Linked DNA regions of Homo sapiens: region 2 is linked to region 1. The links are contacts of gene promoters, found by promoter capture Hi-C in human tissues and cell types (Jung and others, 2019). All regions are on one chromosome and are shown on one strand. The core of a region is centred on a gene start or on the middle of the fragment in contact, and the rest is flanking DNA. Distances in the headings are between cores, read along the strand shown.

Evidence for each region. Contacts are between HindIII fragments. The study calls those that stand out against the background at their distance.
Region 2: a contact is called between a fragment that was not itself captured here and the fragment with the promoter of KATNAL2 in region 1, in 1 of the 25 tissues and cell types used here (lymphoblastoid cells).

Annotation. Positions count from the first base shown.
Region 1 is chr18:46,912,781-46,919,017 of GRCh38, reverse strand. It overlaps KATNAL2 (katanin catalytic subunit A1 like 2), which reads right to left and starts at 1,416. Exons shown (of 18, transcript NM_001387690.1): 1 at 1,092-1,416. It overlaps PIAS2 (protein inhibitor of activated STAT 2), which reads left to right and starts at 1,511. Exons shown (of 14, transcript NM_004671.5): 1 at 1,511-1,696. The coding sequence starts at 1,673. RefSeq lists silencers at 1,252-1,991, 2,062-2,141 and an enhancer at 1,362-2,115. The HindIII fragment of the contact is 6,925 bases long and covers 1-4,119 here.
Region 2 is chr18:46,228,798-46,234,533 of GRCh38, reverse strand. All of the region lies in intron 2 of ARK2N (arkadia (RNF111) N-terminal like PKA signaling regulator 2N), which reads right to left. Among named protein-coding and RNA genes, the nearest start is that of ARK2N, 58 kb to the right of the region's middle. The HindIII fragment of the contact is 6,789 bases long and covers 739-5,736 here.

The DNA.
Region 1 (6,237 bases), core at 167-2,666:
CACACACACATATATATATATACACGCACACACATATATATCAAATAAACAATTACACAAATACCTACATAATTACCATGGAGACATCTCAGGAAGAAAAAGTTCAGGGTCCTAGGAGAGGTCATAACAGGGGAATTTGAATTAAAATGTGGGATGTGGGTGAGGGATGGTCTTCCTGAGGAAGTGACACTTAAAGTGAAACCTGAAGGATGAACAGGAGTTAGGAACAAAGAAGAGAGTGGGAAATTATTCTTGGTTCAAGGATCAACATTTAGAAGCCTTAAAACTTGAGGGGAGGCCGGGTGCAGTGGCTCACGCCTGTAATCTCAGTACTTTGGGAGGCCGAGGCGGGCGGATCACCTGAGGTCCGGAGTTGGAGACCAGCCTGACCAACTTGGAGAAACCTCGTTTCTACCAAAAATACAATCGCAGCTACTCGGGAGGCGGAGGTAGGAGAATCGCTTGAACCCGGGAGGCAGACATTGCGGTGAGCCGAGATCGTGCCATTGCACTCCAGCCTGGGCAACAAGAGCAAAACTCCGTCTCAAAAAAACAAAACTTGCGGGGTGCGGGGGCAGGGGAGTGGAAGGAAGACCTGGAAGTGCAGTGCGGATGAAACGAGGGGTAGTGGGAAGAGGCGGTAGGTAGGAGGCTGATTAAACAGGGCCTTAAAAGTTACATTGTTTTAAAGACCTCTCGTGTGTGGGTTCCACCCAATTCTTCAAGGAAATTGAACCCTGGACACCGTCCAGCGATTTTTCTGGCCATCTTGACTCAGCATCTTCCTTCATCCTATATCAGCACATTACGGGGGGGCCATCAAGCTTCCTTCTATCTACTTACTCTGCCTTGGCGTTTGACTCCTTCCTAGCTATCAGATTTCCCCGACTTTTTAGCATGGCCCTTCTGAGCGCTCTTATTTCACTTCTCCCCGCCCCCAACCCCACCGCCTAACTCTCCCAACTCTGCAGTCCGTGACCTTCAGGTGCCCTTCAAGGTCAGAAAAACTCGGCAAGGTTGGTACTTGCAGGACATTAGCAATTCAAAGAGGTGTCACACAACCTCACCATTAGATGGGAACAATAGCTTACCCAACACCCATATTTAGATTATTCCGCCACAACTACTCTGGGGGATGGTTTTATTTGCGGCGGCTTTCTCCGTCCATAGGCACCGCGTGAAGGGCACCGTAAGAATCTTCCCGAATGCTCCTGTCACGCGTCCCGGCCGCCTCTTCTTCCTCCCCGCCACTTCCCGAGGCCAGGCCCGCGGATAACGCCTCAGTTGCGACCCAGCTCTAGGCAGTCCGCAGGGGCCTCCGCCGGGGAGGGAAGGCACGACCTGGGGCCGAGCGGGGCCAAGCCGCGGGGCAGCACGCCGGGGCAGGCGCGGGCGGGCGCTGTCGCCGCGCGGACTGAAGGCGCGGGCGGAAGGCGGTCGCGCGGGTGGGCAGGGGGCACCGCTAGGGGCGGGGCTTCGGCGCGTCGGAGGCGGAGCTCCCGCGCCGTTCACGTGACGGGCCCGGCTGTAGCGGCGGCGGCCGCGGCGTCTTAAGCGGCGCCCAGTGCAGGATGGTGCTGGAGGCGGCGGCGGCCGTGGTGGCGGCAGCGTCGTTGGCGGCAGCGGGAGTGGGTGCGGCGGCAGCGGCGGCGGCGCCCGCGGGTGGTATAAAATGGCGGATTTCGAAGAGTTGAGGGTAAGCGGGAGTGGAGAGCGGAGGCCGCGGGGGAGGGGATGGGAGAGGAGGTGGGGAAACCGCAACGTCGCCGGCCGCCGCCTGCTCGTGCCTCTGGGGCCGGTTGGCGGAGCCCTGAGCCCCGGCCCGCGGACGAACGGGCGCCGAGGGCGCGGGGGAGGGGAGCGGGCCGGCGGAGGGCACGCGGGCGGCGCGGGGGCGGCGGGCCTGGGCCGCGGCGAGCCGGCTCCTGAGTGCTGCCAGTGGTCCGCACACCTGGCGCGGGGGGTCGGGGCGCCCTCCAGGAGGGGCACATGGGGACCCGACATCCCGGTTCGCAGTGAGGGCCGATGTGGGAAGCAACGTTTGATCTTGCACCTTCACCGGGGTGTACGTGTCTGTGGCTATTCACAAGTCTGCATGCTACTCACTTGGTGGAGGACTGTTTTCTGAAAGCTGAAGTTGCGTTTAGGAATCTCTCCTCTTCTTATGGCTGATGCTACCGTTTAGTCAGGTCTGTCACGAGAAAAGGCCCCTTCTCCCACCCTTGCCTCCTAACATCTTCGAGGAACCTAATGTTTGGGGATCCCTGCCTTCAATAATCGGCCTTAAACCTCGATATTTTCTTAGTGTTTTAGTAAGAAATCTGCAAAGTCTATGTTGTGAGGTTTGTGCACCCCTTTTACTCTTGAGGAAAAATATTTTTTTCTTCTCAGTCTTAAAACAAGATCATAACTTTATTGTTGATACCCTTGTATAGCAGAGGTCTGGAATAGGGCTGTGATGGGGGTAGAACAGAAGAGACTTTTTCCCCCCAGACTGATAACCTTTAAAGTCCTAACTAAGTGTGACGAATGAGATGGATTTGTGTGTATCGCTGAATTACTGGCGACATAAATGAGATGTTTACGGACAGAAACCCTGATTTTTTTTTTTTTTAAATGTATCAAGGTAGAGATGAGTGTAAACTTGAAATTACATTTACTGCAACTCGTTTGTGTAACACTTATGATATTAGGATTTCTTTTTCAAATAAGGAAGAGGAATCCGGTAAAAGGTTCAGTTTTGTATATTTATTGTTTTCCGCAAGAGATGGGATGGGGGAAGGATGTTGGCTGGTTACCTGCTTAGTGGACGTGAGCAAAAGAACGTATCCTCTGCTCTAAACGGAGATTGTTGGAGTTTGCACAGTGCCTGCCATATTCCCTCCTGCTGTTTCAAAAATAATTATTAAGTTCCCAGTAAACACATATTAATACATGTTATGCCCCATACTAGTTTATGCAGAGAACCATAAGTGTAGGTAAAGGGTGTTCATACTTGATAAGTTTAAGGGTTTTAGTGGCTCAGAGCCCCAGCTGTAGAGCTTTTAACACCTGTGGAGCTTTTCAAACAACGAACCCTGAACCTCACCTCTGTAAATTCATGCGTTAGATTTAGGATGGGTTGAGAAGACTGAACTCTGAAGTTATATTTATTTTTACCTGCCATTTTTAATTTTTGTGTAGTAACAGATGTATACAAGTTTTCTAAGTTCTTTTTTTTTTTTTTGTTAATGAAAACTTTCCAGGATTTTTATTAGACTCTTGTGAATGTTGTTGGCCAAAGCTTAATGTAAAGCGAAGAATTTACTCGCTCTTATAGAGCAGAGTAAAAGCAGTCAGTGCTCAGATTGGAGTGCAACCAGCAACTGGAAAGTGATAGAAACCAAAGAAGCTTTTTTTTCTCTTCCTTTCTGCCTTCCTCTCTGTTTTGGTTTGTGGATCAGCTTCATCCTCTTTTCCTGTAAATCAGCTGTCTTTACTTCTTGCATTTTTAGAAGATGGCCCCTCTCCCACAATTCATATGACGTGCCCAACAGAGACTAACTGGGGAGAATTTTCAGAGGAGTGAGGGGTGCAGGCTGGGCACATGCAGTAAGCATCATCTGCTTTTCTTTGCCTTAACTGCTCTGTGCAGACCCATGTTACCCTACACTTGAAGATGAACTGTACCCCGCCCTTACATCCCATTACAGACAGTAATGATGATGATGGTATATACCCATTTTAATATAGTGGTTATTCCATGCCTGGTTCTGGTCTAAGCATTTTTTCTATACTTATTTAATTCTCACAATTTTTTCAAGAAATTGAAGCACAGAGAGGTTAACCTGACCTAAATCACACAGCTTGAGATTTGAAAAGCTAAGATTTTTAATCTTAGACATGTAGCTTTTAGAGTCTGGGCTTTTCAGAGCCCGGGCTACACTACTTTGTTCTGGTACCTTGGGGTCTAGGTGGAGCTTCTAGCCATCATCCTGCGATTGCTCCTAAATTAAATGATTGGTAACATCCTTCTTGTGTGACATTATAATAAAGGAAGAAAAACAGACTAAAAAACGGAATAGAAAGAAAGAAAAGGGGAAGAAATAATCTTGGATTCTCAAAATGATGGTCCTTGGATCAGAATATATTGTGGTGGTCAGAGTGATGCTCAAGTAAATTATAGGACCAGGAAAAATTTTGGGCATTAGTTTGTTGGCTAACTTCTTGGCAGTAGAGAAATTGGTCAGCCGATCTGGATGCCACATATTTGGCTGCTGATATGCCACAGAGAGGATTTCCATTACCCTTCAAGGCTACTCATTTTGGACAAGTATAACCAGAGCAGTTCATATCCTGGCTAGTGCTGCATCTATACTGGAGATAGGGAATTTTGGGAAAGGTAATCCTCAGTGTGGTTTGGTGACCCTGGTGCCTTTGCTTTTCAGACTTGTGTGTCGGGGGTGGAGTTGGGGGGGGGAGGGTTGGTTATTCGATTAGGCAACTGTTAAGGGGGTCGCCTGACTATTTCAGTTTTGGAGACTGCTGCGTGAGCCAGTACCAGAGATCTTGGCTGGTCATAGCAGAATATGGCAGCTCTATACCTTGTTGCCTTTCAGTCCGGGTGACCAGAATACCAGCCCACCTCTCTTCCAGTTCTTCTGGGAGAGAGAATCTGATTGGCTGAGTTTAGGTCTCTACTTCTGTTCTAATCATCCATAGCCGGGGGCTTAGAGTCAAAGCACACAAACCTGATCAGCAGATTATCCTGATGGATTGAAGGAAAGGAAGTGGGGAAGTTCTCTGAAAAGGGAAAATGTGGCCTGTGTGCTCAAAGATGGTTACAATAATGTGTTATATATTAGAAGCTTTCAAGGTGCCAGAGAAGAAATTACTCAATTTACCAGTTGCTTATTTATGGCATCTGTGTTGTTAGGAGCTGAAGGAGTGATTAGTTTGTGAATGAACAGATTTTGAATTAACTAGTTGTGAATTAATGTGGGACAAGATCATAAGATTTGATGGCCTGAACTTCTGTCACTGCTGCCTTGCTTCCTCCTCCAAAAATGGTCTGGAGGGCAGGGCTTGGTAGCTCACACCTGTAATTCCAGCGCTTTGAGAGGCAAGAGGATCGCTTGAAGCCAGGATTTCTGGGTTACAGCTAGCTCTGATCTTGACACTGCACTCCAGCCTGAGCGACAGAGGGAGACCCTGTCTCAAACTAGTCTGTAGAAGAGCTAAGCACAGGGATGGAGGAGAGCAGGAGTTGAGTTTCTGGAATCACTTACCTCTTCTTTAACCAGAGCAGCTTTTTCTTTACCCTTCCAGTTGCATATTTCCAATATTGTGGTCTGCTGGTGGCAGTCATTCACAAAAAGGTCCCTGCTACACTTTAACCTGGTTAATCTACTTTCCCTACTTCTCATCACTCAATGGGGAGGAGGGGGATCTATTGTAGTGACTTTTTTTTTTTTTTTAAGGATCTCCCTTCTGTATTCTTCATCCCCTTCTTTTCATGCATTGAGAATTTATTCTGTGTGTGTCTCAGAATGAGAGAGAATGTGCCTGTGAGAATCTGGTTGTGCATTTGGCCTGAGAGAGCCAGCGATGATAACTTTATCAATAGATACTGGGTAAACCAGAACATTTACCAAACTGGGTAAATTTGTTGTGTCATAATTCGAAGATCAGATTTGGGTCTTTCATGCTAAGAAGCCTAAGTAATTCTGTAACAGAAGGTCTTCTGTCTAGAAGGCTTAAGTGTTTGGTTTCCTTACACCTACCAGGAGTCACCATCCTGATAACTTCAAGTGCTGTTAGGATGCAGCAGGAGAATGGGAAGTTAATGGGGGATTTGAGGTTAGAGGTCCTCATCACGCTCCTCTCCCCATTTATTGGGCAGGGATACAGACTAATAGCTATGATAGATATAACAGAATCTTCCATATGATTCAAAGCTATTATGGGATGCAACTAAAATTTCCAAGGCTTCACCTGAGCTCATGTCTATGAAAGCACGTTCGAAACAAAATATATTTAACTTAAAGTGAAATAGGCTGGGCGCAGTGGCTCAAGGCTGTAATCTCAGCATTTTGGGAGCCTGGGGCGGGTGGATCACCTGATGTCACATTTTTTATTCTCTCATTTCCATTTCTCATATTTTTTAAATGAAAGCAATATTTGTGCAGACAGTACTGAAAAAATTCAAAATAGTGAAAGTCTTCCCTTTTCCATTAAATCCCACTCCCATTATGCTTT
Region 2 (5,736 bases), core at 2,884-5,383, 690 kb after region 1:
ATATTTACCAAGATGAAAATGTATATTTACAAATGAGGCCGGGCACAGTGGCTCACGCCTGTAATCCAGCACTTTGGGAGGCCGAGGTGGGTGGATCACTTGAGATCTGGAGTTCGAGACCAGCCTGGGCAACATAGTGAAACCCCCGTCTCTACTAAAAATACAGAAATTAGCCCAGCAGAGTGGCATACGCCTGCAGTCCCAGCTACTCGGGAGGCTGAGGCAGGAGAATCACTTGAACCTGGGAGGCAGAGGTTGCAGTAAGCCAAGATTGCGCCACTGCACTCCAGCCTTGGCAACAGAGCAAGACTCCATCTCAAAAAAGAAAGAGAAAAAATAGTAATAAAAATACCAATCATCGCTTCTCGGCCTTTTAACTAAGATCAAGTGTAAAAATATCAATCAAGAAAATAGAAAATACATGCAGAATAATTTGAAAAGAAAGCAGTCATTTTCAAAACATCTCTTAGAAAAGAAGAATTTCATCAACAAAAGATAAAAATCTATAAAGGGCCATTTCCAGAAAAAAGCCTTAAATACCAAAAACTACATGTGTATTATTTTCTTCAGAATAACATCAGAAAATTATTTCAGTAAAAGGAAAAATGTCTAAGATAGGGCTACATGGAAACGAAATGCAGCAATATGCACTGAAACTTTGTTTCGGAATTAAGTCGTTTTTAAAATAAAACCAAATGAATGTATTTTGTACTTTTTCCATTATACTCAATTATTAAAAATTTAAACTTTTTATTATAAAGTTTCCAAGATGAAAATAAGATTTTAAGGATTACATTTGTCCTTATACTGGTAAATGTTACATCATTTTGTCCACCCAGGAAAGCTATTTATGATATTCATGAAGGGTTTACCATTTTGAAAAGATCAAAAGAGGTAAAAGCAAAGATCCAAGATTATCAGAGTAATGGAAAAGCTGATCAAAAGAAAAAACAATTTAATGTGTCACCACTAACTATAAAGTTATGAAGCCTCTGATTCAAGTGGGGTTATTTGGAAGATAACTCAGGTAATTCATCTGGATATTTAAGAGAAGCTATAAATACAGAAATGAGGCACCTGAAGAGGTCACCATCTTTCAATTTATCTATTTCAGGGACAAATCCATGACCTACTGCTTTGAGGATTTAGATCCATAGATAAAAAAACTAAAATATCTGTACTACATACAGCAAGAAAGAGCACAAAATTTAGATATATTAGCCACATCCCTATGTCTATGTACCCTGCTAAAGAGTCATCCATTCCACATTCTAGCCTTTTGATTTCTCCTTGAATCAGTCTAAATTTTGCTATTTTTCCAAATATCCATCAATTTTTAATAGGACAGTTTAGTAGGACATATAGTTTAAAGAAAAAGAATCTTGACTTTTTATGTTCACAGTGGTATTCTTTTTTTCAATTACCAAAAAAACTAAAAATAATCTGCCAAATATGCAAAATCTATTGTTATATTAACTAGAAACTAATACCATTTATTTCATTACAGAAAAGCAAGTTTCTTGATTCAGGAACACCTAATGTGAATTAACTGGTAGGGAACCACATAACCCCATCCTCAACAGAGTAACAGGAAACATTTCTTTTTCAAAATTTTTATTCATCTAGGTTACATGTCAAATGCACAGTGAGGAAAAGGATATTAAGAAAATGCAATAAAATAAAAACAGTAATTTCATAACATTCTTCCCAAATCTTAAAGTTATATTAGGAATAAGACTTAATTGCCATAGAATACACTTCTTTGTGGATTATTCCTTCACTTTTTATGACATCTTCTATTTTACACTGTGGTAATTTAATACAACATGAGAATATCTACTCAATACTAGCAAACAAACAGTTTGGTTGCAACTTCCACTAACTTTCCTAAACTTCAGAGGAAATAAAAATAGAAATCGGGGGAAAAATGAGTAAAGAAACTTGGAAGTTATTCCCTGTTACTTACAATTCACAATCTCGTAACTTCTAAACAAATTAAAATGACATGTTTTTTATCTGTACTAGGATTAAGGGCATATGGTATTTTTGAAGAGGATTTTGAGAAAAAAAATTTACTGAAATTGTTTTGACACTGTATTTTCTGACATGTGGCATTCCACAAAATCTTTTTCATTTCACCCTCACTGTACTATTTAAATAATTTTTTAAAAGGGGAGATGAAAATCAACATAAGCTAAATAAAATATAAAAGGTACAATTAATTTAAAAGGCTACCTTTTTGTAAGATAACTTGCCCATAATTTGCTATTTTAAACAAATGATAACACAAAGCCTGTTTGCCATCTTTCTTATAACATTCATGTAACTGTATACCTTTAGGCAAAGTCAGCTATATGTTAAAAATAAAAATTACCAGTAATATCAATTTAGGGTACTTTGGTTAAAAAAGAATTCACTATATTGTTTCTTTCATTAACAAGCAGACTTAATACACTTTAAATCATTCTGCATACAACTTTTAAGAAATAAATCAGACTGAGCGCTGTGGCAGCACTCTGGGGGGCCAAGACGGATGGACCACCTGAGGTCAGGAGTTCGAGACCAGCCTGGCCAACATGGTGAACCCCTATCTCTACTAAAAATACAGAAAATTAGCCGGGCATGGTGGCAGGCGCCTATAATCCCAGCTACTCGGGTAGCTGAGGCAGGAGAATCACTTGAACCTGGGAGGTGGAGGTTGCAGTGAGCCGAGATCATGCCATTGCACTCCAGCCTGGGCAACAAGAGCAAAACTCTGTCTCAAAAAAAAACAAAAAACAAAAAACAAAAAAAAAAAGAAAGAAAAATCGTATGTAAATTGAGATATACCTAGACCCAGAGACTCTTGCTGTTAAATCTTAGTAACAGCAGGGAATGACAAAAGCAATACTCAAAATAAATTAGTTACTGTATATTCTTCTATTCGGTCTGCTAGTGAGATTTAAAAAAAAAAAAAAAAAAAAAAAAGCCCCAAACCTTTAATCATTTTTAAAAAGACATTTTTTCTCAAGCTTAATTACCATAACTAGGTTTATATGTAGGCAACTTTTATTTTCTTACATACCTTTAGGAAGCAATAAACAGGTATTATATTAATAATCTGAATCCATTCGAAATCACTGTAGCAACTGTACAGTTATCTGCCTCCAGCCATTTGTCAAGTCTAATATTAATGAAATTCAGTTACTTCAGAATTCTGAAGATGGGTACACACATGCATACACACATCCCTGAAACCAGGCTAATTTCTCTTAGTAAAAATCCATACAAACAAAAAACAGATAACACTTTCCCTTGGAGCCCTCCAAATAATTTGTATGCTACTCCTAATTTTTAAAAAAGTAAAACTTCATGTAAAATATTAAGCCTTAAGATTTTAACTTGACCTTGTTGGGCTCTAAATTAAAATTTTATGTGGGCTTTAAAAATTATGCTCAATTTTAATAATGTACAAAAAGTACAATCAATATGATTAAGAGAGTTATTATTGTCTAATAAGTGGCTCAAATAACCAGATCACTCTAATCCGCTGGTTGAATTCTCTTAAGATGATTAGATATCTAATGTCCTAGGACTGAGCTAGCACAAACTAGGCAGAAAGCAGGCTGTAGCTAGATTATCAAAAACACATTTACCTTTAGTGAGAGGATAATGGCCTCTTAAATGCCAACTAAAAAGAAACACTAAAAGGAAGTATCAACATGTAACAACCAGTAATAAAATTATAACTGTGGTAGTTAAAACTATAATTTGTTTCCTAACATTTCTCAAGTTATTCTTTTTACAACATTCGGCGATTTTTTAAATGAAGTAACTTTTTTAAAAGTCTGCAGCTTAATCCTTTTAATTCTCTCCCATGAAAACAAGAGAAAAAAATTATCTGATAGATTAGACAAAGGGAAAATTCCATATGCACATATTAGAGAGATACAATAGTCCGGATATGGGATTTTATTCTTAAATAAAAAAGCATTTCAACCATTTCTGGATTAGTGTTGTAGGTTGAAAGAGATTTCTTTCCAGCATTAACCCTTCATAGAGTACAAATAAATACAAACAGGACATGGTCCTTAACCTTCTTAAAATTCTAGGAAAATTAAGGGAATTCAGAGGAAACGAAGGGAGGGCCACTAGGGACTTAAACAATAGCTACATAAAAATGCCGTCATGTAATCCAAAAGTAATTCCCACTTATTACTATTATTAGTACTATACATGTAATCTTGAGAATACAGACTGCCTCAGGGAAAGAGAATGCAATAACCTACACTAGTCATGTAAAAAATGTACATATTAAAACTACTTCACAGGCCAGGCGCGGTGCCTCACGCCTGTAATCCCAGCACTTTGGGAGGCTGAGGCAGGCAGATCACCTGAGGTCAGGAGTTTGAAACCAGCCTGGCCAGTATGGTGAAACCCCATCCCTACTAAAAATACAAAAATTAGCCGGGCCAGTTGTGGGCACCTGTAATCCCAGCAACTCAGTAGGCTGAGGCAGGAGAATCGCTTGAACCCAGGAAGTGGAGGTTCAGTGAGCCAAGATCGTGCCATTGCACTATAGCCTGGGCGACAAAGCGAGACTCTGTCTCAAAAACAAACAAACAAACAAACAAAAAACACTACTTCACAAGGCGAGGCGTGGTGGCTCGTACCTGTAATCCCAGCACTTTGGGAGGCCGAGGCTGGGGGATCCCTTGAGCTTAGGAGTTTAAGACCAGCCTGGGCAACAGAGCAAGACCCCACCTTTGCAAAAAATAAGAAAATTAGCCAGACATGGTGGCACACATTTGCGGTCCCAGCTACTAGGGAAGATCACTTGAGCCTGGGAGGTTGAGGGTGCAGTGAGCTGTGATCGTGCCACTGCACTCCAGCCTGGGCAATAGAGCGAGACCTCATCTCAAAAAAATTAAAAAAACAACACCAGCACTTTGGGAGGCTGAGGCAGGCGGATCATGACGTCAGGAGATCGAGACCATCCTGGCTACAGTGAAACCCTGTCTCTACTAAAAATACAAAAAATTAGCCGGGCGTGGTGGCAGGCACCTGTAGTCCCAGCTACTCAGGAGGCTGAGGCAGGAGAATGGCATGAACCCGGGAGACGGAGCTTGCAGTGAGCTGAGATCGCGCCACTGCACTCCAGCCTGGACGACAGAGCGAGACTCTGTCTCAAAAAACAACAAGTACTTACCATATTGACACTTTTTTAAATGTCTGTAATATAAAAACAAAGTATGTTGAAAGGGGAATTTTTTAATTGCACTACCTGGAAAAGGTGTAACCACTTTAAAGCAAAATCTATTTTTTTTTTTCAAAACAACACTCCTTCAGACAGCAATGTATTACCTTCAAAGCACTCTGCAAAAACTGAAAATCAAGATAAAAATTTTTCATATATATGATTCTGTTATAAATTACTCCTAAAGTTAAACTCTCCAAACCACAGAATGTCAAATTTTACTTTAGGAAAAATTTTTAATATTTTGGTATAGGTTCTAAGAATTTAATCAGTGTATTCTGGCATTCCTTATCTTTCTGCCAAAACTTCTTTTTCTTCCTTTCCTCAAAATTTTGTAGAAAAGGCTTTCCAAAATTATTAGTGTTCAACACCTTTTCAAATATTCAAAATGTTATTCTTACCTTGAATATAACTATTAATACCTATGTTTTAGGCCAGGTGCGAATCCCACAGAATCTCAGCACTTTGAGAGGCCAAGGTGTGCAGATCGCTTAAGCCCA